7 separate regions of the Homo sapiens genome follow, and regions 1, 2, 3, 4, 5 and 6 are each linked to region 7. Evidence: promoter capture Hi-C in human tissues and cell types (Jung and others, 2019). All regions are on one chromosome and are shown on one strand. Each heading gives the region's core, a stretch centred on a gene start or on the middle of the fragment in contact. The rest is flanking DNA. Distances are from core to core; before and after follow the strand shown.

The links. Contacts are between HindIII fragments. The study calls those that stand out against the background at their distance.
Region 1: a fragment that was not itself captured here is called in contact with the fragment with the promoter of UCK1 in region 7 in 2 of the 25 tissues and cell types used here (dorsolateral prefrontal cortex and spleen).
Region 2: a fragment that was not itself captured here is called in contact with the fragment with the promoter of UCK1 in region 7 in 3 of the 25 tissues and cell types used here (dorsolateral prefrontal cortex, hippocampus and spleen).
Region 3: a contact is called between a fragment that was not itself captured here and the fragment with the promoter of UCK1 in region 7, in 4 of the 25 tissues and cell types used here (H1 embryonic stem cells, IMR-90 fibroblasts, aorta and 1 more).
Region 4: a contact is called between a fragment that was not itself captured here and the fragment with the promoter of UCK1 in region 7, in 2 of the 25 tissues and cell types used here (dorsolateral prefrontal cortex and spleen).
Region 5: a contact is called between a fragment that was not itself captured here and the fragment with the promoter of UCK1 in region 7, in 4 of the 25 tissues and cell types used here (H1 embryonic stem cells, IMR-90 fibroblasts, dorsolateral prefrontal cortex and 1 more).
Region 6: a contact is called between a fragment that was not itself captured here and the fragment with the promoter of UCK1 in region 7, in 4 of the 25 tissues and cell types used here (aorta, bladder, dorsolateral prefrontal cortex and 1 more).

What each region holds. Positions count from the first base shown.
Region 1 is chr9:131,185,103-131,188,793 of GRCh38, forward strand. NUP214 (nucleoporin 214) reads left to right here. Exons shown (of 36, transcript NM_005085.4): 25 at 2,187-2,262. Among named protein-coding and RNA genes, the nearest start is that of NUP214, 61 kb to the left of the region's middle. The HindIII fragment of the contact is 5,069 bases long and covers 1-3,691 here.
Region 2 is chr9:131,213,698-131,217,519 of GRCh38, forward strand. NUP214 (nucleoporin 214) reads left to right here. Exons shown (of 36, transcript NM_005085.4): 31 at 1,515-1,671. Among named protein-coding and RNA genes, the nearest start is that of FAM78A, 61 kb to the right of the region's middle. The HindIII fragment of the contact is 4,973 bases long and covers 1-3,794 here.
Region 3 is chr9:131,251,991-131,255,940 of GRCh38, forward strand. No RefSeq gene overlaps it. Among named protein-coding and RNA genes, the nearest start is that of FAM78A, 23 kb to the right of the region's middle. RefSeq lists a silencer at 624-940 and enhancers at 647-696, 1,892-2,393, 3,950. The HindIII fragment of the contact is 9,598 bases long and covers 1-3,950 here.
Region 4 is chr9:131,166,903-131,170,976 of GRCh38, forward strand. All of the region lies in intron 21 of NUP214 (nucleoporin 214), which reads left to right. Among named protein-coding and RNA genes, the nearest start is that of NUP214, 43 kb to the left of the region's middle. The HindIII fragment of the contact is 5,096 bases long and covers 1-4,074 here.
Region 5 is chr9:131,147,075-131,151,066 of GRCh38, forward strand. NUP214 (nucleoporin 214) reads left to right here. Exons shown (of 36, transcript NM_005085.4): 14 at 416-510; 15 at 3,250-3,336; 16 at 3,542-3,691. Among named protein-coding and RNA genes, the nearest start is that of NUP214, 23 kb to the left of the region's middle. RefSeq lists a silencer at 2,708-3,002. The HindIII fragment of the contact is 3,709 bases long and covers 1-3,635 here.
Region 6 is chr9:131,963,993-131,967,633 of GRCh38, forward strand. The region is part of intron 3 of MED27 (mediator complex subunit 27); the gene reads right to left. Among named protein-coding and RNA genes, the nearest start is that of MED27, 110 kb to the right of the region's middle. RefSeq lists an enhancer at 1,083-1,584. The HindIII fragment of the contact is 3,909 bases long and covers 1-3,641 here.
Region 7 is chr9:131,529,654-131,533,315 of GRCh38, forward strand. It overlaps UCK1 (uridine-cytidine kinase 1), which reads right to left and starts at 1,610. Exons shown (of 7, transcript NM_031432.5): 1 at 1,414-1,610; 2 at 833-992. The coding sequence starts at 1,521. RefSeq lists enhancers at 1-61, 767-1,680 and silencers at 1,096-1,145, 1,346-1,705, 1,846-2,015. The HindIII fragment of the contact is 11,870 bases long and covers 1-3,662 here.

The sequences.
Region 1 (3,691 bases), core at 778-3,277, 340 kb before region 7:
ATGAGTATTTACCTTGTTGAAGTTCATTAAAGTTGGAGGGATCAATAGCAAAGGGCCTAGGTGACATTTTAATGCTTCACAACCCAATTTTATAATTGTGTGTAGAGTACACATCCATGGAACATGTGTGCATTTGTCTGCCTCTGTTGGCATGTAGTGCTGGTAATGTGTGGCCAAAAACAGAAAAAAATGACTCTTCTGTGTTTTATTTTTCTCCAAGAACCCGAGTTTCCAGACTCTTAGTGATCTGTGCCTCTGTCGCTCATTTCTGAAGCAGGAACTTTAGTGTTGCTGGCAATGTCAGTGTCATTTGTAGACTCACTCAGTAAAGAGATGTCTCTTTGGGGCTCTGTTATAGCACCATTTTCTTCTTAGAACAAATATCAAGATGAATTTCTGATATTTTTCAACTCCATATTGCTAAAAAGTGGAATAAAGTCACCTAAGATATGGATACTTCTGAATTTGGCTTTTCTATCTCTTGATCATTTCTAGCTATTGATTTCCATTGTTTTGGTTCATGCTCATGCAAAAACGTTTGAACATATTTGTTTGAGAGTATACTGTTTTTTTCTGTGTGCTGTCTTGGATCTTGATAAGAGATTTATTGGATCTGGTTTGTTAATTGGTTTACTGGCTGATTGCACTGAACAGCATTTCTTTGCAGGGGTGTCACGTGGTGTGTAGGTACTGTGAATCCTAATTTTGTGTATTTGGGGATTTAGGATACTCAGGAGATACATAGAATTATCACAAATAAATAGAATAATAATTACACTCAGTCTTATTCATGCATAATTTACTATCATGTCACAATTGAATTCTGGCTGTAAAAAATTTTCTAAAATTTGGATAAATTGCTGCTTTTATTTTTATTTCTGATTTCTGTTTGTCTTTGAGAAAGCATGAAAGAGTTTCCTTTCCTTTGTAATCCTTGTGAGCTCCAACCTCTTCTCTAAGCAAGTCTGCTGTGTCTGTCCAGGTACTGCTCAGGGCCCAGCAGTCTCACTCACACATTCTTTTCCTCTGGTACAGATTCAGCGGAGGTGACGGGGGAACACTGTATCTGTATTGCCTGCTTGGTAAACTATCTCAGGGGAACAGAGATGTGTTTCTCCAGAGAGATGCATATTTATAGCTGCTTCTGGCTTCAGTAGAAGCATGAAACGGGTTTTGTTTCATTGAACATAAGTTCACTTTTTCTTCTCTCTCAATCTAATAAAGTCTGTTTAGGAAGGTCCCCTTGTTATTCCAGCAGAGAATCTCAATATGCTTGTAAGGTTTGTTAAGCTGTTTGATAATTTTCTTCCGTGAGGCACAGGCCTATCTTTTATCTTCTAAGTTCATTTTTGATGGAAAATATGAATCCTCCCTAAATCTAGGGGAGTTCTGAAAAATAACCAGGTCCTACAACTACTACTGCTATATATACCAGTCAGAGTAGCGCTGGGCTGACAACAGATAAATTGAAAAAATTGCCGCTAGGAGCCAAGAACTTTTGTGTGTGATTACACTAACAGGTAGTTTTCCCATATGTGAACACTAGTTATTGAAATAACAGTTCCTCACATACAGTATTCACCTACTTCAGAGTTAACAAAAGATGATGAGAGCTCTTTCTGCGAATAGGGGTATACTTTTCATGCTGTAGCAAAGATGCAGGTTGGGAATGGAACAGTGGTACATTTGAATCCCTTGGATGCTGACCTGGTGAGCCCTGGAGATAGCTGCTGTGAGAAGCTAAGATCTCTTTGGATAGCACCTTTGCGGTAGCAGCGAATTGGATGCATAGGTGGCAGTGAGAATGCTTCCCATAGAGCCTGCTTGGGTAAGAGAATCAGGAATTTCTCGTGGTCTACAACAGGGGGAAGGGCCAGGGAGGAGGAGGGCTTATACTCTGGATAGCAAAAAGATCTAGTTCTGAATGGTTACTAATTTTTTTCTTTGGATTGCAGAAAGGAAATAAGTTATAAGGCCACTGCTTTGACTTTCATGCTAAAAACCCAAAGTTCATTTTTAAAATTTATCCTTCAAAAAAAATGTCAAATCAGTTGTATTGGGGTCCCATGCATCTGTATCCTACCCAAAACTGGTATTGTATATTGGACAGAAGGTTGGCTTGAGAATGAATGTGATTTTTACCTAGTCATGCCTTTCTCTGAGTGTATGCTTTGTGTGTTTTTCAGTTCTTCAGTGCCCTACTCCACAGCCAAAACACCTCACCCAGTGTTGACCCCAGTGGCTGCTAACCAAGCCAAGCAGGTAACTTACTGATTTTTACTTTTTTTTTTTTTTTTTTTTTGAGACAGAGTCTTACTCTGTCGCCCAGGCTCAAGTGCAGTGGTGCGATCTTGGCTCACCGCAACCTCTGCCTCCTGGGTTCAAGTGATTCTCGTGGCTCAGCCTCCTGAGTAGTTGGGATTACAGGCACCCACCACCATGCCCAGTCAATTTTTGTAGTTTTAGTAGAGACGCGGTTTCACCGCGTTGGCCAGGCTAGTCTCGAGCTCCTGACCTCAGATGATCCATCTGCCTCGGCCTCCCAAAGTGCTGGGATTACAGGTGTGAGCCACCGTACCCGGCCTGAGTTTTACTTTTAACATTCATGCCGTGTCTGTCTTTGTAAGTGAAGACCATACTGTTTTTAAGTCTTGACTTTGTTTAAATGAACCATAAGTCTGATAAAGGCCCATAATCCCTTCCCCACAATTTATGCCAGTCTTGACATGGCTGTTAATCAGGGTAGGTCAGTCAGGACCTGATACTGTCTTCATAGGCCATTTAAACATTCTGCACCTAGTAATTTGGGGTCATAATTCTAATACCATACATTTTTATATGAAGTATTTTGCTTTGCAGTTTACTTTCACATTATCTCAGTTAACCCATACAACAGCCGTGTACAGTGGGAGGATAGGTGTTTAGATATGTCTCACTGGTGAGGCAGCCTAGGCTTGAGTGACCAACGCAAACTCTCACGATTAGTAAATGGTGGAACCAGAGCTGGGACCCAAGGCTTCTGACTTCCTCCTGTCCATTGCTCGTTTCACTACACAGTTGAGTATCAATGTCTGGGGTATAGGTTATCTGGTTTTCTCCTGCAATCCCTGTTTGTCAGAGTTTGCATATTTTTAGTGATGTTATGTCTAGCTTGTCTAGCTTCAGGCTTTTGCCTGATAAACATTGTCCCTTAGAAAAATAGGTGATATTGCAAACAGTTAAACAATCCAGAAAAAAGTGATAGGGGATGGTTGGAAGGTCAGTCAGGCTAGTGCTGAAACTCTTCCTAAGAAGTTCTGGTTTCTCTCACTACTCTTACATCTGTCTCTGAGATGAGTAGTTTGTGTTAGAGATCAGAATTTGAGACTGGATATCAGGACTTGCCTATTTAAGTTCTCAAACTTGCCTCTGTTCCTTAGTTTACCATAACTTAAAATGGCATTTAAGCATTTAGCATTCGATCTTTCTTCTGGAGGTATTTGTGTTCACCATGGAAAACACATGATAAGGCATAAGTCATGGCGAGTGAAGGAACATTGACTGGAGATGGATAAGTCAGTTTTGCTTTTAACCTTATTGTACATGCTTTGAGAGCTAGAACCATTTTATTAATTTACTCCTTCATTAATTCATCTACCTAATAGTCAAGTGCTTTTGATGTGCTAAGCACTGTGCTAGGCACTGGGAAGAT
Region 2 (3,822 bases), core at 58-2,557, 320 kb before region 7:
TCCTAGTTTTTAAAAGCTGTGACTCACCATTAAATGGTTGTAGTGAATTGGTACTGTTGTTGTTGTTGTTGTTGTTGTTGTTGTTGTTGTTAAGAAATTTAAAGGGGGAAAAAAAAGAGACTAGGAAGTACATTAAGTATGTTACCCTAAGACAGAAATTAGCTTGTTGTATTTGAGGCACAGAAGATATGTGTGACTGCCCTGAGTGAGGGGGAGGATGATAAAAGATGATGTCAGAGCAGTGGAAAAGGGACAGATCATGTTGGGCCTTCTAGAATTGGTAGACAGGAGTGAAATGATGTGACTGCCATTGCAAGTAGTGCTCCAGCTGCTGTGTGGACGTAGACTGTAGTGGGAGCAAAAGACCAGCTAAGTTGTTGCATAGTCTGGGCAAAAGGTTGGGGTTAGGTGGCTCAGACCAGAGTAGAAAGGAGGGGATACCCTAGGGGGTGGGGGGCATTTCAGAAGTGGCCCACTGGAGGTTTGATGAGTAGAGATTAAGTGATTACTTAGAAAATACTTAGGAATGTGCCTAGCACATACAGAGTGCTTGATTTTTGGTTCATTGTGGTTAAAACACTGAACAGCAACCATTTTTTGAGCATATAAGTCTGTTTCAGGCTCTGTTCTAAAGTGTGTTACATTTCTTGGCTCACGTAATTCACTCTCCGCTGTGTTGAGATGGGTAGTTTATTACCACCATTTTACAGGAGAGGATCCATAGCACCGCTCTGCTCTTGCAAGTTTCTATGCACAGTGGCCCCTTTCCAAAGTCCATCTTATTCTGCATTCTCAGCCACGGAGAGATGACACTTAACTAAGGTGAATGGCCCCTCAAATGTAGCCCAGTTGTTCTTTAAGAACCAGCTTCCAGAGAAGTTAAGTGTCTGGGACCTGACACAGCCTCGAGTCAGCATTTGCCCCTGTGCTAGCAGCATCCTCTGAGCATGAGATTTGCAAACTTGGACAGAATTCAGCTTTGGTCATCATTTCAACAATGAAGCTAATTTAAGCTTACTTCTGCAGCACTGGGAAAGTCATTATGAAATAAAAGTGCACAAATGGAGAGAAAGACAGTGAAAATCACTTATCATCCATTGCTAATGAGTTCAGCCAAACGCTGGAGGAATCAGAATAAGTGGTGTCCGTAATAGCTTGTAAATGTTTTCGAACTTTTTATTTGGTGGATCTCTTGTGGGGTTGGTTTTCCTGACCCTGGCATTGTGTCAAACAGACACTGCGGGCAGTGTAGCAGATAAACATTAAAAGTTCCCACCTACCATAAATCATGTTTTCAGAGAACTGTGAACATGGAATAGCTTGAGAACTTCTCATAGATAGGAAGTCCCTGTCCAGAGTCTAGCTTCTTTTGTGGTGGTTAGAGCATTTGTACCAGAACTAATCTTGCTTTTTCCATTTGTGCCAGCTGTGAGCACCTCCTGCCCACGGATGCAGCCTGCCATTTCACGATGACCTCTCATCCTATCTTGCTTCCTGACCCTTTTGTTTTTTAGCAATCATCCTCTTCCAGTGGTAGCGTGTTTGGGTCTGGAAACACTGGAAGAGGGGGAGGTTTCTTCAGTGGCCTTGGAGGAAAACCCAGTCAGGATGCAGCCAACAAAAACCCATTCAGCTCGGCCAGTGGGGGCTTTGGATCCACAGCTACCTCAAGTAAGTTGAGAAGACTTTTCCCAGTCCCTTGGTCCCCTAATGCCATTGTCATTCTTAGGGTGTTATCAAAGCTTCAGTGACAAATATAAAAAGAAAAAAAAATCTAGAAGGCTCATTTAAAATATCTTCCCCAAAGCAGTGTGATCTGTTTTGCTTTTTTATTTTTGGTTTTTTAATGAGATGTCCTATATAATCATGAAAAGATATCAGAGCTGCAGGGAGAGGATCTGTGTATTGAGCTGCTCCCCTCTTCTCTCCCAAGGCCCAAATCGCTCTGTTTCTTAGTATTGGAGTGACTTGAAGTGAATGCAAGCAGACAAGCATAAATGAGCAGCAGCAGAGCAAGCCGAGGATGCTGGGAGGAGAGCATGCAGACTTTCATTTGGATAGTACTCTCCAAATTTTCCTTAAAATTCAGCTCCTGTAGGGAGATGTCACCCAAAAGTTGAAGCCTTTAATATTTCTCACCTCTTACATTTTTGTTTTATTTTCATCTGAAGCTGTATCTGCCAGTACTTTCTTTAGCTAATTTTTTTTTTTTTTTTTTTTTTGAGACAGAGTTTCACTCTTGTTGCCCAGGCTGGTGTGCAATGGCGTGATCTCAGCTCACTACAACCTCCGCCTCCCAGGTTCAAATGATTCTCCTGCCTTAGCCTCCCAGGTAGCTGGGATTACAGGCACGTGCTATCACGCCTGGCTGATTTTTATATTTTTAGTAGAGACAGGGTTTCACCATGTTGACCAGGCTGGTCTCAAACTTCTCCGCCCGCCTCGGCCTCCCAAAGTGCTGGGATTACAGGTATGAGCCACCATGCCCAGCCTTCTTTAGCTAATTTTAAAAATTCTTTTTTTTTTTTTTTTCTTTTTTCTTTTTGAGACAGAGTCTTGCTCTGTCACCAAGGCTGGAGTGCAGTGGCGTGATCTTGGCTCACTGCAAGCTCCACTTCCCGGGTTCATGCCATTGTCCTGCCTCAGCGTCCTGAATAGCTGGGATTACAGGTGCCCGCCACCAAGCCCGGCTAATTTTTTATATTTTTTTTAGTAGAGACGGGGTTTCACCATGTTAGCCAGGAGGTCTCGATCTCCTGACCTCATGATCCGCCTGCCTTGGCCTCCCAAAGTGCTGGGATTACAGGCGTGAACCACCACGCCCAGGCTTTTTTTTTTTTTTTCCTTTTTTTTGAAACGGAGTGTTGCTCTGTCACCCAGGCTGGAGTGCAGTGGTGCAATCTCGGCTCACTGCAACCTCCCAGGTTCAAGCAATTCTCCCAGCTCAGCTTCCCGAGTAGCTGGGATTACAGGCACCTGCCACCAAGCCTGGCTAGTTTTTGTATTTTTAGTAGAGACGGGGTTTTACCATGTTGGCCAGGCTGGTCTCGAACCCCTGACCTCAGGTGATCCGCCCACCTCAGCCTCCCAAAGTGCTGGGATTACAGGCGTGAGCCACCGTGCTCGGCCTTAAAAGTTATTTGTTGACCTGTGTATTCATGGTTGGAAATGAAAGAAATCTGTTTGTGTAGATCTTTATCCTGCTGCTCAGGCGGAAGCTGAGATTAGAAGTTGGGAGCCTGTCCTGTTTGTCTCAGCTTCTCTCATTTAATGTGCCCTACATGAAGTTTCTCTCATCTGTTGTGCTGTGTGAGATCTCCATGAATCATGAGCTAGTGTTCTGCAGTCATGACAGATGTTTCCTTAATATTAAGGCCTGTGCAGTTAGCAAAACTTTCTATCCTGATTTGCCCTTCTAAACTCCTAAATCAAAAACTAGTCAGTTTTTTAGTTCAGCCTGGGCAACACAGCAAGTCCCCATCTCAAAAACCAAACAAACAAAAACCTAGTTATTTTGATGTCACTGTCCACTCCACTAATACATAAGGAAAGATTATTGTCAAGAGACACATACCTTTTACCTTGTGAAATTATGTAATCAGAAGTTTTTGTTCTTTAGGTTTCAGTCTGCCAGGAGGGATTTAGAATCCTGGATCTTAGAAATCAAGTCTAGTAGTTTTCAAAAACTGTTTTTGCCAATGAACTCTTAAGTAGCATCCTGATAAGGAAAACAAAAGTAGGTTCATGCTGAAGCAGGGGTCAGGAACTCCAAAACACACAGCTGGCTGGCACCACAGGACCGTGAGGCTCCATAGCACATAC
Region 3 (3,950 bases), core at 70-2,569, 280 kb before region 7:
GCCTGATGACCCCCCGGAACCCTCCTCCCTGTGAGGAAAGCGTAACCCTGTCTTGCAGATGAGGAAACCGAGGCTCAGTGGTGCCGCCGAATCACTCGGATTTGCTAAGCGCTTACTCTGGGCTGGGCACTTGTCCAGAAGCTCAGGACCATCGGCTTCACGTGCCTCCGCAATCTCGTGAGGTGAGGAACCACCTCCGTCCCCACTCCATGTCCTAGGAAACCGAGACCTGAGAGGAGGGGGACTTGCTCAAGGTCACAGCCGTAGAGGCACCGCCCGCCCAGGAGGGCTCACATGACCCTCTCCGGCCTCCAGGCCCAGCTGCAAGAGGAAGCACCGTCCTGGGGAGCCCGGAGACCCAGGCCCCCCTCACAGGCGAGGGGCTGGCACGCGGCCTCTGGAGGAACTTCTGGCCTTCACCGTCTCCGCCTGGTCACTCGTCAATGGCCGGCTGCCTTCTGGAAAGCTGCTGCTGCGCGACAGTGACCCTGGGTGGAGTGAGGCATCCACGGGTGCTCGCTCCCAGAGATGGAGGCCGGAGCCCTGAGCAGAGGCGCCGGCTGTGCCCCGGTCCTCTGTGGCCCCCAGGGCTGCAGAGCTGGGCAGGTCGATTCCCTTGTCACTCCTAAAAGAACATTTGAAGCCCCCAGCAGGCTGGTGTGGGCACCCCAGTTCCTCAGCTACTCTGGGCTCTCCTTCCCCAGAGGCTGTGGGACCTGCCTTCCGGCCTCCGTCACATGACCGCACAGCGAGGAGGCGCTTCTGTGAACCAGGAGGTGGCCCTCACCACGCAGAAACTGTGGGCGCCTTCATCTTGGACTTCCAGCCTCCAGAACTGTGAAGGATTGGTTTCTGTGGTTGACGAGGCATCCGGTCTATGGTTACTTTATTCTAGAGCCCAACTGGGCCAAGGTGATTGTACGTATCTGTGAATATACTAAAACCATAGAACCGTACACTTTCTATTTGCTTTTATTTTGTGAGACAGGGACTCACTGTCGCCCAGCTGGAGTGCGGTGGCACGATCAGGGCTCGCTGCAGCCTCGACCTCCCACCTCATTCTCCTGAGTAGCTGGGATGACGAGAATGTGCCACCGCGCCCAGCTAATTTTTGTTGTTGTTGTTAGCTTTTTGAGATGGAGTCTCACTCTGTCACCCAGGCTGGAGTGCAGTGGCACAATCTCGGCTCACTGCAACCTCTGCCTCCCGGGTTCAAGCAATTCTCTGACTCAGCCTCCCGAGTAGCTGGGGTTACAGGCGCCCGCCATCACACTCAGCTAATTTTTGTATTTTTAGTAGAGACAGGGTTTCTCCCTCTTGGCCAAGCTGGTCTTGAACTCCTGACCTTGTGATCCACCTGCCTCAGCCTCCCAGAGTGCTGGGATTACAGGCATGAGCCACTGAGTCTGGCCTATGCCTGGCTAATTTTTAAGTTTTTTTGTAGAGATGGGGTCTCACTATGTTGCCCAGGCTGGTCTCAAACTCCTGAGCCCAAGATCCTCCCACTTCGGTCTCCCAGAGTGCTGGGATTACAGGCAGGAGCCACTGCACCGGCCAGAACCGTACACTTTTTTTTTTTTTTTTAAATGGAGTCTTTGTCACCCAGGCTGGAGTGCAGTGGTGCAATCTCACTGTAACCTCTACCTCTCAGGTTCAAGTGATTCACCTGCCTCAGCCTCCTGAGTAACTGGGATTACAGGCGTGTGCCACCATGCCCTGCTAATTTTTGTATTTTTTTCAGTAGAGACAGGAGTTCGCCATGTTGACCAGGCTGGTCTTGAACTCCTGACTTCAGGTGATCTGCCCGCCTTGGCCTCCCAAAGTGCTGGGATTACAGGCAGGAGCCACCACACCCAGCCAGAACCGTACTTTAAATAGGTGAGTTGTGTGGTATGTGAACTGTATCCCAATAAAGCTGAGGTAAAGCATTTTAATACGTTTGTGTGACTGTCTGACCAGCATTCAGTCTGCATTTGTCATGGATGCTGAGAATCCCACATCACTAAGCCAGGCCCCTGTGGTCTAGATGTTGCAGAAGAATTGAGCCGTATTTAGAGAGAAGAGTCCCTGGTCTCTGAGCTAAGCCCTGGTGCTCAGTGTGATTATTCTGGGGGCTCCATTTGCATGTTTAACACGGAGCACAACTGCTATGCCTTTGCTGGGCCCCGGACCGGGGAGGACAGGGTAAGTGTGCGTGTCTCTGGCCTGACGATTAGGAAACTCAGGCATGTGAGGTTGAGCGACAAGCCTGGCCTCACTCAGCAAGGCAAGTGGCAGCCAGGAATAGTGCAGGGCTCCCAGCTGTGTCTGGCCCGCCGTAAACACCCACCCTTCTTCTGTCTGATTGAAAAGGGAACATGAAATAAGAACCAGGGCTCAGGCTGATACAGGAACTAATCCTGCCTCTGCATTCCAAGTCGTGCCGTCTGGGCCTGAAGGGAGCTGGGCTGGCCTTCGCCAGTTCCCATGTTGATTTCGGGTTCACCTCCCTGCACACAGGCACAGAGATGGAGTTCATTCACTCCGACGTGTTCGCTTGCATTTAGTAGTTTCCATCGGCCGGGCGCAGTGGCTCAAGCCTGTAATCCCAGCACTTTGGGAGGCCGAGGCGGGCAGATCACTGAGGTCAGGAGTTCGAGACCAGCCTGGCCAACGTGGTGAAACCCCATCTCTACTAAAAATATAAAAATTAGCCGGGCGTGGCGTGGAGCGCCTGTAATCCCAGCTAGTCAGGAGGCTGAGGCAGAATTGCTTGAACCCGGGAGGCAGAAGTTGCAGTGAGCTGAGATTGCACCATTCCACTCCAGCCTAGGGGACAAGAGTGAAACTCCGTCTCAAAAAAAAAAAGTTTCCATCGTCCAGGGTCAACAGGGCTGCTAAGGACTCGGACTCAGCGTCATGCCGAGGAACCTTAGCAACAGGACAGCTGAGGGCAGTCTGGTAGAACTGGGGTACCAGAAGGCTGGGGTGTCATAGAAGGAGCTGAGACAAAGCACGGGGTCAAAGGCCGGGTGTTTGAAACCAGCCTAGCTCTGCATCTTCCCAGAAAAGTGACCTTTGGCAAGCCCCTTGGTCCCTTCTGTGGGGCAGCGTCCTCACTGATTGAAGGGGAAGAGCATACTTGAAGGGTCAGCAGTGGCAGGAAGGGGCCTGGACAGCACCGGAGTGGCTGGTTGTGCCCTGTGATCCTGATGGGCAATTTTTGGACTGTCACACAGTAAAATATTTGCTTTCATCCTATGCCCAGACCCCAACCAGGTGGGAAGCCATTTCTGTGGGGGCGCCCAAGCAGGATAGAGGATGACCAAGAGAACCACCAAGCCAGAGGCGACAGAAGATCACCTGGGCTGTTAGAAACCTCCGAGGGCCTGCAAGCGCCACAGGCCATCACACTTTTTTTTTTTTTTTTTTAGATGGAGCCTCACTCTGTCACCCAGGCTCTGGAGTGTAGTGGTACAGTCTCGGCTCACTCCAACGTCTGCCTCCTGGGTTCAAGCGATTCTCCTGCCTCAGCCTCCTGAGTAGTTAGGATTATAGGCACCCGCCACCATGCCTGGCTAATTTTTGTATTTTTAGTAGAGACAGGGTTTCACCATGTCGGTCAGGCTGGTCTTGAACTCCTGACCTCGTGATCCACCCACCTTGGCCTCCCAAAGTTCTGGGATTACAGGCGTGAGCCACCGCACCCCGCCAGGCCATCAGCTTTTTTGTTTCCTGATGAAACTGTCTTCTTTTGGGCTCCAAGAGGGGCTTTCCTGTTTGGCCTCATGGCCCAGACTACAGCAAGTCTCTGTCCCATTTAAAACAGCCCCAGAGCAGAAGAGGCTCTCCTGAGAAGTGACTTTGAAAGTGGGAGGTGGAGATGTTATGGGGTCGCTGTGCAGCTGCTTCTCCCAGACCCTGGATGTCTCAGGCAGGTGAGCCTGGCCTGGCCCAGACAGCCGGCTCTC
Region 4 (4,074 bases), core at 381-2,880, 360 kb before region 7:
CTGAGAATAAGCTGAAGACAACGCCCCTTATTCCTAAATATTTCAGCATGTGTCCTCCCAAGAACAAAGGTGCTCTCTTACACACCATAATACAGTTTGCAGGTTCAGGAAATTTAACGTATACAGTTATCTCATATACAGTTGATACTCAAATTTTGCCGGCTGTCCCACTTACCCCTACACGTTGATTGGATCTAGGATCCAATCCAGGATTCTGCATTGTGTAAGTTGTCATTCTCTTTAGTCGCCTTTTCTTTGTTTTCCTTCAGAGCTTTACTATGTAAGCATACCTCCCAAAACACTATGATTTGGTTTTGCCTGTTTTTGCATACCACATAAATCCATTCACTTAGTCTCTGGACAGGCTTCTCTTGTTCCACATCAGGCTTGTAAGATCCATCCGTGTTGTTGCCTCTAGCTGTTATTTTAGTTGCTCTGTATAGGATTCTATTGTATGAATATGCTGTATTTGTTTATTCATTTTCCTGTTGGACATGTGCTGCTTTCAGTTTATAGCTATTACAGAAAAGGTTCTGAATATTCCCGTGTGTGTCTCTCGGAGCACATGTGTACTTTTCATTTGGTTACATAGCTAGGAGTGGCATTGTTGGCTCATAGTCTGTCCATATGCTCAGCTTTCATAGACTCTGCCAGGCGGTTTTACTAAGTGGTTGTACTTTATCATCAGTAAATGAGTGTTACAGTTGTTCCACATCTTTGCCAAACTTGATATTGTCGGTCTTTTTTCTTTTAACTATTCTGGTAGGACTCTTTTGTAAAATGTTTTAACCATTTGGATATGTTCTTTTGTGGAGTACCGAATTAAATCTTTTGCTCATTCATTTATTATTGAATACTCTGTCTTATTGATTTGTACATGTTTTTATCAATTCTGGAGACCAGCCTTTGTTGGTTTTGTGAGTTGCAGATACTCACTTTGCCTTTTTGTCCTCTTAATTATGTCTTGGTGAACAGAAGTTCGTTTTTGTTTTTGTTTTTAGAAACAGACTCTTGCTCTGTTGCCCAGGCTGGAGTGTAGTGGTGCAGTCATAGCTCACTGCAGCCCCAACCTCCGTGGCTGAAGCGATCCTCCTGCCTCAGCCTCCTGAGTAGCTGGGACTATAGGCACAGGCCAGGCCACCATGCCCAGATAATTTTTTTAGTTTTTGTAGGAACATGGTCTTGCTGTATTGCTCAGGCTGATCTTGAACTCCTGGCCTTACGTGATCTTCCTGCCTCAGCTTCCCAAAGCGCTGGGATTACAGATGTGAGCAACTGTGCCCAGCCTGGTGAGCAGAAGTTCTTAATTGTAAAATAGTGAGATTTATCAGCCTTTTCTTTTATAGTTAGTACTTTTTGTGTTCTGTTTAAGAAATCCTCTATCTCTAGGTAATGAAAGTAGGTATGCACCTTTATTATCTTCCAGAAACATTTAAGTTTGTCTTTCACAATTGGATCAACTTTATTGAGGTATAATTTACATATAAAACTCACCTGCTGGTAGCTGGGTGCTTTTTACTAAGTTTACAGAATTGTATACCCATCACCACATTTCAGTTCTAGAACATTTCCATCACTTAAAAAGTTTCCCCAAGCTTGTTTGCAGTCAATTCTTGTTCTACCCAAGCAACCACTGATCTGCTTTCTTTCTTCTTGGATCTGCCTTTTTAAAGAAATTGCATATATTATGGAGTCTGATAGTGTTTGGGTTTAGGTTCTTTCACTTAGCATGTTTTTGTTGTTCACCCATGATATGTACCATGTATCATTAGTTCATTCCATTTTGTCATTGAACAGTATTCCACTGTATAGATATATTTAGTTCACCCTATCAATAATTGATTTTTGTGTGTGATATAAGGTATGGCTCATGTGTCATTTTTTTGTGTTTGGATATCTGCTTGTCCTAACACTATTTATTGAAAAGACTCTCCTCCCTGCTTAGCAGGGCCACTTTTATTATAAATCGTTTATCCCTATACATGTATGTTTGTTGGTCTCATACACTGATTAGAAAGCACTACTGCCACACTGCCTTAATTAGTGCTCAAATAAGTCTCAATACTGTTCTCTTGCTAGATTCTAGAGGTGTTCTGTCCAATATGGTATTCTGCTTACTTTGTTTTTTTTTGTTTTTTTTTTTTTTTTGGAGACAGAATCTCGCTCTGTTGCCAGGCTGGAGTGCAGTGGCATGATCTCAGCTCACTGCAACCTCTGCCTCCTGGGTTCAAGCAATTCTCCTGCCTCAGCTTCTTAAGTAGCTGGGACTACAGCTGCGTGCCACCAAGCCCAGCTAATTTTTTTGTATTTTTAGTAGAGATGGGGGTTTCACCGTGTTGGCCAGGATGGTCTCGATCTCCTGACCTTGTGATCCGCCTGCCTCAGACTCCCAAAGTGCTCGGATTACAGGTGTGAGCCACCACGCCCAGCCTCTGCTTACATTTAAATTAAATAAAATTGCAAGGCAAGGTGGTGCATGCCTGTAATCCCAGCTGTTTTGAGGAGGCTGAGGCAGGAGGATCACTTGAGCCCAAGAGTTCGAGGCCAGCCTGGGAAAGGAGTGGTGAGACCCTGTCTCAGATAAATATATAAATTTTAAAAAGAAAAATAAGTAACATTTAAAATTTAGTTTTGCAATCCCAGTAGCCACATTTCAAGTGCTCAGTAGGCACATGTGACTAATGGCTACTGTAATGGCAAACACGTATAAAGAACATTTCATCATTGCAGAAAGTTCTACAATTCAGAGTAGGGGTTGGCAGATTTTTCTGTAAGGGGCCAGCTGGAGAATAGTTGAGGTTTGCAGGTGCTGTGGTTTCCATTGCACCTACCTAACTCTGCTGTTGTAATGGGAAAGCAGCCACAGACCATGTGATGAGAGGGGCATGTCTGTGTTTCAGCAAAACTTTATATTTCTGCAAAGAGACAGCTGGTCTATGGTTGTAGTTTTCTGACTCCTGCTCTAGAATGTTTTGCCTTTCTTGGTGTTTTACATTTTCATATTAACCTTAAAATTGTCTTGTTAAATTCTACCTCCCTGTACCTAGAGTAGTCAAAACTATAGAGACAGAACTAGAATGGTGGCTGCCGGAAGCTGGAGGAGGGAAAATGGGGAGTTAGTGTTTCATGGGGATGAAGTTTCAGTTCGGGAAGATGAAAACGTTCTGGAGATAGATGGTAGTCACGGTTATACAACATTAGGAATGTATTTATGCCATGGAACTGTACACTTTAAAATGTGACTATGGTGCATTTTATGTCATGTATATTTTACCACAATAAAAAAATAAATAAATAAAAAAGAAGGGAGGCAGGAGAATCGCTTGAACCCGGGAGGCAGAGGTCGCAGTGAGCCGAGATCATGCCGTTGCACTCCAGCTTGGGCAACAAGAGCGAAACTCCGTCTTTAAAAAAAGAAAGTTTTGGGGGAGGAATTTTGCCTTCCTCAGCCTTCAAAGGAAAGTTGAGATTTTGATTGGAATTGTATTGAGTCTCTAGATCAACTTGAGAATTGACATTTGTGCAGTAGTGAACTCTCAGTTCCTGAACTGGGTACATATTTGTATATTTGGGTGTTCTTTAATTTCTCTTAATGTTTTCTGCGTGGGAGACATGCACATCTTTTGTTAGATTAATTGCTAAAAATTTAATTGCAAAAATTTGTTGCTCTTATAATGGTAGATTTTTTTTCCTTAAATTTTATGGTTTATGTTGGATGTAGTATCGAGAAATACCATTGATTTATGTGTATTTACTTACAGCCAACAACCTGGCAGAATTCATTTATTCTAACACGTCTGTAGCTGTTTCTTGGCCTTGTAACTATGGAAACAATGAAATCCTCCATGGATACTAATGGTGACGTTTCTGCCTTTCCAGTCCTTTTGTTATTATTATTATCATTATTATTATTATTATTATTTTACCTTACTTCACTGGCTAGAACCTCCAGTGCAGCGTAAAAGTGTCGTGTAGCTCTCCTTGATCTCAAAAGGAGCACTTTCTATAGTTCATCCTAAGATGTGAGGTTTGCTGCATCTACTGAGATGATCATATGACTTTCTATCCTTTTGT
Region 5 (3,992 bases), core at 531-3,030, 380 kb before region 7:
CTCCTGGGCTCAAGCGATCTTCCCACCTTAGCCTCCTGAGTAGCTGGGACTACAGGCATGTACCACCACCGTCGGCTAATTTTTAAATTTTTTTGTAGAGACAAAGTCTTGCCATGTTGCTCAGGCTGGTCTCAAACTCCTGGGCTCAAGCAATCCTCCTGCCTCAGCCTCCCAAAAGGCTAGGATTACAGGTTTGAGCCACCATACCTGGCTCCTAAAATTTTAATATATTTTTTTCATTATCTTAGAACAGAGGCTAGCACAACTGGTGGTCATCACTCTTTAAAATAAATCATGAAAGTGGGCCAGGGGCAATGTGTAACTTAATTTCTTAGATTTGGAGAAAGGACATTTGTGATAGGAGAAATAAAGGTAATAAATGCCATCTATTTTAACTGACTTCTTTTTCAAGCAGGACGATCTGCTCAGGGCAGTTCAAGCCCAGTGCCCTCAATGGTACAGAAATCACCCAGGATAACCCCTCCAGCGGCAAAGCCAGGCTCTCCCCAGGTATGTTTAAATTCAGCTTGCAATGTTTGTGTTTATTAATTTACTGCCCCAAGCATACCTATGAATAAAATGAGTTTTCATGTTTTATAATTCAGACCTTGGACATAGTAATTGGGACTATGTGATAGTAAATACCAAAGTGCGAGGTTTGAATACTTGTATACTCGTAAAAGCCATTTAGCTATTTTAATTTTTTATTCATGTATAATACAAATAGAAAAAAGTACACATGATACATGTACAGCTCAGTGAATTGTCAACAACTGAACATACCTTGGTAACTAGCATCCAGATCAAGAAACAGAATTTTACGAGAACCTGGCTGGGCACAGTGGGTCATGCCTGTAATCCCAGCACTTTGGGAGGCCAAGGCGGGCGGATCACCTGAGGCCAGTAGTTCGAGACTAGCCTGGTCGACATGGTGAAACCCCGTCTCTACTAAAAACGCAAAAATTAGCCGGGCGTGGTGGCACGTACTTGTAGTCCCAGCTCCTGAGGAGGCTGAGGCATGAGAATCACTTGAACCCGGGAGGCGGAGGCCAGAACCCCAGAGTTCTTTTTCACCTGTCCCCTTCTAGTCACTACTCTTGCCAAAGAGTAGCTGATTTGATTTCCAACAGCATAGATGAGGTTAGCCTGCCTGTACCTCCTATCAAGTGGATTTGTACAGTATGTATTCTTGTATCTGGCTGCTTTGTTCAACATTATGTTTGTGAGATTTATCCATGTCGTTGTATGGAATTTATTGTGTGATTATATTACAACTATTTGTTCCACTCTGATGGGCGCTTGAGTAGTTTCCAGGTTTAAGCCATTGTATGTAGCACTGCTATGACCGTTCCAGTTGACATCTTCAATGAACACATATGCAAGTTTCTCTTGGGTGTATCCCTATGAGTGAGATTGCTGGGTCATAGAATCTGCATGTATTCCTCATTAGTAGATTCCCACCAAGAGTGTATGAGACTTCTGGCTGCTCCACATACTTGCCACTCTTGGTATTTTTCATCTTTTGTTGTATGGTTTTGTGGTTTTAATTTGTATTTCTCTAATGATTAGCAAAATTAAGCTTTTTAAAAGATGATTATTGGCCATTTGAATATTTTCTTTTATGTTGTGTCTGTTCATGTCTTTATTCTGTTTTTCTGTTGGATTGTCTGGCTTTTTCCTTCTGATTTTTAAGAGTGAGTTCCTTGAATACACACACACACGCACACACATACAGTGCAAATATGTTCTCACTGTGAATTGTCTATTCATTGTCTTTTTTGTTTCTTTGATGAATACACATTCTTCATTTTAATATAATTAAGTATATCAGTTTTTTCTTTTATGATTAATGCTTTTCATGTTTTAGAAATAATTTTCTATTTCAAGGTCAAAAAGATGTTTTTCTAAAAGCTTTATTATTTTATCTTTCATATTTAGATTTGTAGTCCATCATCTCAGTTTATTTTTATGGTATAATGTAAAGAGAATTGTATGTCAGTTTCCCACGTGATTACTTGAGTGCCCTGAGAATAAGCGTTATGTCTTTTCCTTTCTGTGTCCCTCTAACCAACCCTTGTACCCTAACACACACCTGTACTAGGTACATAGTAAGTGCCCAGGTCACAGTTCACGGTGTGGCATGATGCATGACATACAGTGTTTGTCAAATAAATGTTTGCTGTTAATGAATGCTGATGCAGTCTAAGACCTCTCTAGTGTTAATCGTTGTAAGTATCAAATAGTCTAAAGGGCATTTCAAATTATAGTATCTTTAAAGCAGAACTCTTGATTTCTGTCTCCCCTAGAGGCTAGTCCTTTTCCAATGGGTAAGTAGCACTAACAAACCAGATGTTTGCACAAGCCCCAAGCCCCGAAGCATCCTAGATCCCTCTCTTTAACAGTACCTGTCCCCAGTCCAGGCTGGCGGGAGGTCTTGTCAGCTCCACCCTCTGCTGTGTCACATGTCATAAGCCCACAGCTCTGTCCCCCTGCTAGCATCCTGTGTCAAGCTGTTGCACCTCTCACCTTGTTAACCTCTCGACTACTCTCTCTGCTATCCCTGCTCTACATAGCAGCAAGAGGGATCTTTTAAATCATAAAGGAGATTTAAACTCTTGTAAAACACCAGTAGTAGCTTTCCAACACGTTTAGAATAGAACCCAAACTCCTTGGTGTGACCTTATATGACCTACCCCGGCCTGCCTTCCTGACTCTACCCCTGCCCTCTACAACGCCTCCCCTGACTTCACAGAGCCCACATTTACTTTTTTTCTTTGCTAAGGTTTCTCCTGCCTTGAGACCTCTGCACTTGCCTTTCTTGGTGCCTGGCAGGTGCTTCCTGAAGATCTCATAGCTTGCTTTCTGCTTGCAGCCTCCGTTCAGATGGCAGCCCGCAGTGAGGGCTTTCTTGGCCATCTCATCTGAAGTAGTGCCCTTTTTTATTCTCTTTATGTTTCCCTGTTTGTTCTCCAACTGAAATTATCAGATGTGTTTATATTTTATTATTCAACATGTCCCAGTAGGAGGTAAGTTCCATAAGAGTTGGGCCCTCATCTACTTGTTCACCTCTACCTGCACTGTCTAGAACATGCCTTACACAAAGTAGAGACCCTATAAATAAGGATTCGTTACAATGAGTGAAGAAATAATGACTGTGTTACAGGAGCGCCACTCCCTGTAATAGGCTCTGATATAATTGCTTGTAGAAGCTATGACTTGCAGTTTTTAAACCTTTTCCTTCCATTTCAGGCAAAGTCACTTCAGCCTGCTGTTGCAGAAAAGCAGGGACATCAGTGGAAAGATTCAGATCCTGTAATGGCTGGAATTGGGGAGGAGGTAAATTTGTTTCCTGAGGGTGTTTTTCTGAAAGTAGCTGACAGACTTGGATGGGTCAGAGTGCCAACCCCTGTATGACTAGTTAGTTCATTCTAGCGCTGAAGCATGGCCCATCCCAGCAGTCTGAGCAGTTAGTAAGCACGATAGCAGTGACATTACTGTTTGTCCTTCAGACTGAGTAGTTCCTCACTTGTGGCTTCTACAGATTGCACACTTTCAGAAGGAGTTGGAAGAGTTAAAAGCCCGAACTTCCAAAGCCTGTTTCCAAGTGGGCACTTCTGAGGAGATGAAGATGCTGCGAACAGAATCAGATGACTTGCATACCTTTCTTTTGGAGATTAAAGAGACCACAGAGGTTTGTGTTTATGGATACTTTTCCTGAGTTGAATTGCATTTAACAATTTTTTTCTCCTAGTACTCCATGGGGTTATGTACTTTATTTCTTCAAGGACCACCAGTGTTGTTGTTTTTTTAACGTGGCTGAGTAGCTTGCCTAGAATCCCTGAGTTCAAATCCTACCTTCAGCACTTAATAAATTATGTGACTTTGGGCAAGTTAACCTCGTTACTCTATTTTTCAGTTTTCTCATCATAAGATGGACTAAGTTTCTATCCCTTTGATGCATACTGTGCACTCCATAAAATTTATTATAATTG
Region 6 (3,641 bases), core at 452-2,951, 430 kb after region 7:
AGTGTGCCCTTCTATGATGTTGACTACCCACCCAGAGTAAGTACTGATCTGATTGTGAGGAGAGTGGAGAAGGTGGTATAGAAGCTGAAAGGGTTAAAAATATGGGCTCCAGTGAACCTGGGGAAGTAATTAATCACTCTGAGCATCAGTTTCCTCATTCATAAAATGAAGATTGTAGTTGCACCTAGTTCAGAAGGTTGTTAGGATTAAATAAGGTAATCAGTGTTAAGTGCTTAGAACAGTGTCTGACAGAGTAATCACTCAATAAATAACAGCTGCCAGCAGTGATGGTGGTGGTTGATAGCGATTGTGGTGGTGCTGGTGCTGGTGGTGGAGGTGATGGTGGTGGTGGTGGAGGTGATGGTAGAGGTGATGGTAGTAGTGATGGTGATGGTGGTGGTGATGCTGGAGGTGATAGTGATGGTGGTGGTGGTGGTAGTGTTGGTATTATGCCTGTGAAGTAATATTCAGGCTCCTTTGTGCCTTCAGTAACTCCTTCACTGCCAAGATGGTCAATGAAAATTTCAGCCACTAAGACAAATCACTCTAGCCAAGTATCAGACAGGACCACAAATACAAAACTGGGTATTTTCAATAACATAAGAACAAGAGAAAGAAGGCGGCAAGGAGAATTTGGATTGGTGATATTGATACCTAACCCCCATCCTAAATTCTCTTACTTAAACCTTGAACCAAGGACGTGCAATTCTTATAAGACAGCGGTCTGTTTTAGAAAGTGGAAGGCATAATGTTTAAGCACAAGGGATCAAACTGGTCTGCTTTGATGAAGTCCTTTCCGATACAAGGACATATTACCCATATTTTAAGCTTTCCCATGGTACTATGCTAATGCATGTTCAACGCTACATCTAAAATCCCACAACCCTTCCAGCAATTCCATACTCAGTTCTTATTTTAAACTCATTGTATTTACATGCCTACACCTTTTCAATAAAGGCTTTTTAAAAGTGAAAGTACAATAAACTTACATACATTGTGTATGCATTATGACTTTTATTTATCTGGATTTACAGCATTTGCAGGTAGTTTCACTTAAGTCAAAAAGGTTTGGGAAGGTGAAAAAGTTCAGATCCCTTAATCTTTTCTTCTGAAAATAAATTATTCATGAAGCTCTCTCCCTCATTCCCAAATGGTTAGGTTTAAACAATTGCTTAAAGTGCTGATTTTAACTGACGAACACATTATTCATAAAGCCTACAGCCCAGGAAACACTTACTTGCTAACTGGTCATTTTCATCTGATCAATGACTTCACAGAGTTGAAACATACCACAGTGGAATGTGCTTCTAGCGCGAGGCCATGGCATTAAGTGCCTGACTCTCATGAACAAAGCAAGCTGGTTAATGGTCATTTTACGGTCCACATACTACTCTGAAATCTATTAGAGTGTGGCTTAGTCAACCTTATCAGAGATGATTTGGGGGTACTCAGCACAGTGGGAACCTTCCTGTAACAGGTTAATGGATCAATTTATTTATTTCAAATCTGTTCTTTTCAAGTTGAAAAGCCACTAAAGACTTTCCAAGAGATCAGCTCAATAACCACAAGGAGAGGCAGTGATGCTGGATCTGTTGCTCTTGGTCCTTCTCTGTCACTTATGGTTCAGAGCCACCGGCTCTCTGGTGACACCACAGCAGAGCTGAGTGAGATGAAAGTCTGGCTTTGCCTCTTAGGAGTCTACATGTCGATTAAAGTCCTGGGATACCTTATGTTGCAAGGCATCACCTCACTTTTTCTTGAACAAAAAATAAAGGATTCCACTTAACAGACCCTAGGCTGTTCCCCTTTCTTGATAAATGTTATTTCAAATTTTTGATAAAAACATGTCACTAACTTTAGACCTGTATCACCACCACCACCCGCTGGGAATTCTCTTTTTAAATTAACACTTTTTCAGAGTATTGTTTTGCAAAATATAACGCACCATTGGAAAGTAACCAAGCATCAGCAAGACAGCAGGTGACCTTCAGAGACCCGGGAGTCTTTAGTGCTCGCAACCATGCGCATCCCAGAGAGGACTTCCACCTTGCAGTATGGTCTGACGCCTAAGAATAAAGACTGCATTTTGGCCAGGGGTGGTGGCTCACACCTGTAATTCCAGCACTTTGAAAGGCTGAGGTGGGAGGATTGCTTGAGGCCAGGCATTCGAGATCAGTCTGGGAAACACAGTGAGAGCCTGTTTCTTTAAAAAAAAAAAAAAAACAAAACAAAACCAAAAGCAACTGATTTGCCAGGCATGGTGGCATGTGCCTGTAGTCCCAGCTACTCAGAAGGCTGGGACAGGAGGATCACTTGATCCCAGGAGGGCTGCAGTAAGCCATAATTGTGCCACTGCACTCCAGCCCAGGCAAAAGAGCCAGACCCTGTCACAAAAAAAAAAAAAAAAAGGAAAGGAAAGGGAAAAGGAAAAGGAAGTGTATTTCCACTAATGGTCCCTAAACTCAAGATTTCACAGACCAGGCAAGAGGAAGCTTTATTTGTGCTGAATTTCAGGTTACATGCTATATGGCTAAAAACCCAATGTTATCCCTAACATAAAAAACAACAAGTTTAAAATGTCTTTACTTAGGATCCCTTGTACTCTTCTAGTATCACTTTTAATGAAATGGTTGAAAGCAAGAGCTTTGGAGTCTGTCAGTCACTATACTGATGCTGGGTGGCATGATCTAGTGGACAAGGACCCGGACTCCCGACGCTTCAGTGCCCAAGTTCAAGTCCTTGCTCTGGCAGGACCTGAGCTAGCTATGTGACCCTAGCCAAGTCACTTAACCTCTCTGTGCTTCAGTTTCCTCCTTTACAAAAAATACCTAATAATATCAACCTCACAGGAATTCTGGAAGACTCAATGACTAAAAAAATGCAGAGTACTTGGACTCTAGCACGTAGCAAGTACTATCTGGATGCTCACCAGAGCTATGACCATCTTCACTCTTCACTAGCTGTGTGGCATTAACTTTCTTGTATCTCAGTTTCTTCATCTGATAAAGAGGAACAATACTATTTCACTCACAGCATCGCTAAATAACCATGCATGTAATGTGCTTGGCACAGGGTCTAGCATATGATATGTGCTTGATATGCAGTAGCTATCATTAATGTTCTATCAGTAATTGAATACTTTCTTACACTGTTCTTTACTCTGTACAAAAATCTTTGTGCTTGAATAAATATGCCATAAGTTTATTCAAAATATAAACTCTAGGCCATTCCAATTTGTGGGTGTTAATTCAAAATTTTCAGAAATGCATGGTACAATTTTCGGAACTGTACCTTCCCAATAAATCTCTCTTAAATGTATCCCCCATGACACCACCACTGTGAATCAACAAAAAATGCTCAATGGCTACTTGCAAATGGATAATTTTAAAATTAAACTGAAGTATAGATTTTAAAGTGATTACTTCTGCTTTCATTATCAGGTTGCACTTACGGCAGAGTCTCCAGCTCAGAAAACACTTTCCTCTCATGAATCTTTTTTTTTTTTTTTTAAGTTTTGAGATGGAGTTTCGCTCTTGTTGCCCAGGCTGGAGTGCAATGGCACGATCTCAGCTCACTGCAACCTCGGCCTCCCGGGTTCAAGCAATTCTCCTGCTTCAGCCTTCTAAGTAGCTGGGATGACA
Region 7 (3,662 bases), core at 360-2,859:
GCTCTGGGGTCAGCACAGCTGGGTGCTGGGGACACCGAGAACCCTAGCACAGGTAGACTAGGACTACGGCAGTGTATGTTTGGTAGCAACAGTGCCCTCTGCAGCCCTGCAGACCACAGGATGACCCTGTCCTTGCTGTTCTCGGGCTGTGCCACTGCCCAAGCTCTGTGCCCCTGAGATGCCGGAACACAGGGGTTTTCTGATCAGCTCTTCCTGGGAGGTGGGTAGGCTGGGCCTCTGCTTCTCTCTCTTTCTGGGACTAACTGGTTAGACTGCGGCTTTGCAGGCCTTCTTCCCACAAGTCCTTGGGAAAAGGCTGACCATGCCAGCCAGCCAGGGTGGAATCTTCTAGCAGTGGCAGGTGTCTCCCTGCCGCATCTGCCCGTTTACCTGGCCCGGAGCTTCAAGCCACCAGCACTAGTTTACCTACCGCCTCCCACACTGGCCTCTCTGAGGACTTTGCCCCAAAGCACGGGAGGGCACAGTGGGCAGAGGTGTGTGTGGAGGGCCCTAAAGGCCCCAACGTGGGAAGGGAAGATGGGAGGATTTCTCCAGGATCACAGTTGTGGCAGGGCAGGGCAGGGCTCCCCACAGTGCAACAGGCTTCCTGACTGGCTCCAACCACGCTCCTGGGGGGACACTCAGGGCCCAGAGAACTCAGCAAAGTTCCCCTGACTTCACTGTGCAGCCAACTCCACTGCAGGCTGCGTGGCGAGTTGGGGGAACAGCCCAAGCGGGTCTGCATCCATCCAACCTTGGGCCCAAGCGCAGCTGGTTAGCGGCCGCCCAGAATGGGGTCTGCCCTCCCCACATCGTTGGGCTCGCGATTTACCTGGATGGTCAAAATTGTACTGTCCTTTCAAGGCCTTGGCCTTCTGCTCTGCCGTCAGGACCTTGTAGAACCTGTCCTGGCTCAGGATGACCACCTTCCGCTGCCGCTGTTCCACCTCGTTCTGTCCCAGCAACTCCATGATCTTCTCACACACGGTCGACTGGAGACACAGAAGCGGGATTCCCGCCTGGAACCGCTCGTCCTGTGACAGGCACGGGGCCGGCTTCTGGAGACACTGACCCACCCGCCCCCTGGGGGGTATGCTCGGAAGGCGGGAGGACACCAACAGGTGTGGATGGTCTCAGCGGAAGGGCCGCGGGGGCCCAACGGGGTTAGCACGGACTTGGGGCTCCGAGGAGCCCGGCCGGCGGAGAGGCTGTGGGGGAGCCCCGAGGCCCAGCGCCCCAACCCCTCGCCCGCCCCAGCCCGCCCCGGCCCATCGCGGCCTGCAGCCCCTTCGCTCCCGCGCCCTGCCCCTGCCTGGCAGGGGGCCCCTCGGCCGGGGCTGGGGTCTCCTCTCTGGACCGGGCCGCCCGTAGGCACCGGCGAGAGGCGAGACCCCGGCCCGCTCGGCCCCTTACCTTCCCGCTGGCAGTGCCGCCGCTCACCCCTATCAGGAAGGGCCGCTGGTGCGGACGGTCGGCCTCCGGCGCGGGGCTCTCGCAGTCTTCGCCTCCCGCCGAAGCCATCTCGGCCTCCGCTCCCGCGCATCGGGTCCCCGCGCCCGCCCCTTCCCCAGGCCCGGCGCGCCCGCCCAGCGCCGAGGTCGGAGGCAACCGGAGCGATCACTTCCGGGAGGCGCGCGGGGCACGCCGGGAGTTGTAGTCCACCGGGGGGGGGGGGGCCGCGCATGCGTGAGGGTGCAGGGCCCGAGGCCGGCACACCAGGAGCGCCCGCGTCCCATTGCGCCGAAAGCTGGCTGGCAGGGACTGCTGCGCCCGGGCCTCGAGCCGGCTACAAGGTCTCAGACTCAAGTGGCCCGGAAGGTGCCCGTTCCGCACCCCGAGGCTGGGGCTGCGCCTTCGTCCGAGTGCTTGCCTCTGCCTCGCGCTGCCTCTGCGCCAGTCCCGGGCCCTCCCCCGGCCGCCCCCGGGCCTGGCCCCCTCCAGCCCAGGCTCCTCTTGGCCATCGAGGCCTCCGGACTGTCCGGACGCCTCCCACCCCACCCGCTGCTGGAGCCGTCGGGGCGCCCCGGAACGTGGCGGGGGCTGTCGCCTGATGACTTTAGGCTCGCGCCTACAGCGCGCCAAGGAGGCAGAGGCCCATGTGCCGGGTTCCATCCCTGCCGCCCCCCCGCTCCGTGCCTGGCACAGAGAACGTGACAGGCAAATTCTGATCCATTGAAATTATGGATTTCCAGCCGGGCGCGGTGGCTCACGCCTGTAATCCCAACACTTTTGGAGGCTGAGGCGGGTAGATCACGAGGTCAGGAGATCGAGACCATCCTGGCGAACACGGTGAAACCCCGCCTCTACTAAAAATGCAACAAATCAGCTGGGCGTGGTGGCGGGCGCCTGTAATCCCAGCTACTTGGGAGGCTGAGGCAGGAGAATCGCTTGAACCCGGGAGGTGGAGGTTGCAGTGAGCCGAGATGGTGCCACTGCACTCCAGCCTGGGCCACAGAGCAAGACTCCGTCTCAAAAATAAAAAAGAGAGAGAGATAGCTAAGGCTCGGGGCAGAGCATGCTTTTCATATACAAAACAGACAACCCCGGGCGGACGCGGTGGCTCACACCTGTAATCCCAGCACTTTGGGAGGCCGAGGCGGGTGGATCACGAGGTCAGGAGATCGAGACCATCCTGGCTAACATGGTGAAACCCCGTCTCTACTAAAAATACAAAAAATTAGCCGGGCATGGTGGCGGGCGCCTGTGGTCCCAGCTACTCGGGAGGCTGAGGCAGGAGAATGGTGTGAACCCGGGAGGTGGAGCTTGCAGTGAGCCAAGATCACGCTACTGCACTCCGGCCTGGGGGAAAGAGTGAGACTCTGTCTCAAAAAAAAAAAAAAAAAAAAAAAAGACCCCAAGTCTACAGCCCCAGCTACCTCCTTATCTAATTCTCGCCTTTGGAGGCAAGATTCTCCCTGCCCTAAGTCACCCAGGGCCAGGTATCAGGTGACTAGAGACCACTCTGCAGCCCAGAGCCTGCTAGAATTACTCAAACTAGCCAATTTTAAACTCTTTCCCTGCCCTGCCAGGCCTTTTCCATGGAAACCCCAAGAAAGCCTCAGGCCTGGGCTCTCCCCTCGCCCCTGCTTCTGCCTCCTGACCAAACCTGGGGTTCTCTACTGAGAACCGTGCATGGCATGGGTGCCCCTTCTCTCAGGAAATGCGATCAATCTTGCGATGGCTTTGGCCTCTCCTCATGGTCATTCAGCCGTACCTCTGTAAATTAAGCCCCAGGCACAGAACAGTGCCTAGCAAACAGCCACGCTGCTGGCTTAGATCTGTCCAGGTGTGTGTCCCAAAGGTGGCCATCCCCCAAGCCAACTTTGAATTTGTATCAAGGGAGAGTTAGACACGGTTTCTTGCCATTTCTTCCCCTGTGGTCCAGCCACGTAGCGAAAGGCAGGGAAACTAGCAGAGTCTGACCAGGGGCTGTCCCTGATACCCCTGGCCTGGGTCTCGTGTGCCCTCTCTGGTGACTGGCCACAAGGCATGGGCTGCCAGGGCCAGTCAGGCTATTGCGTGGTTCCGCTCCCAAGGCAAAGGGACGCTTTGGGAAGGAGCCACTCCCTGGGAGCAGGCCCAGCACCCAGGAAGCCCACAGTCCAGTAAACAAGGCCCGGGCCCACACGGCTCAGGCCTCTGGGCCACAGTGGCTCCCCTAT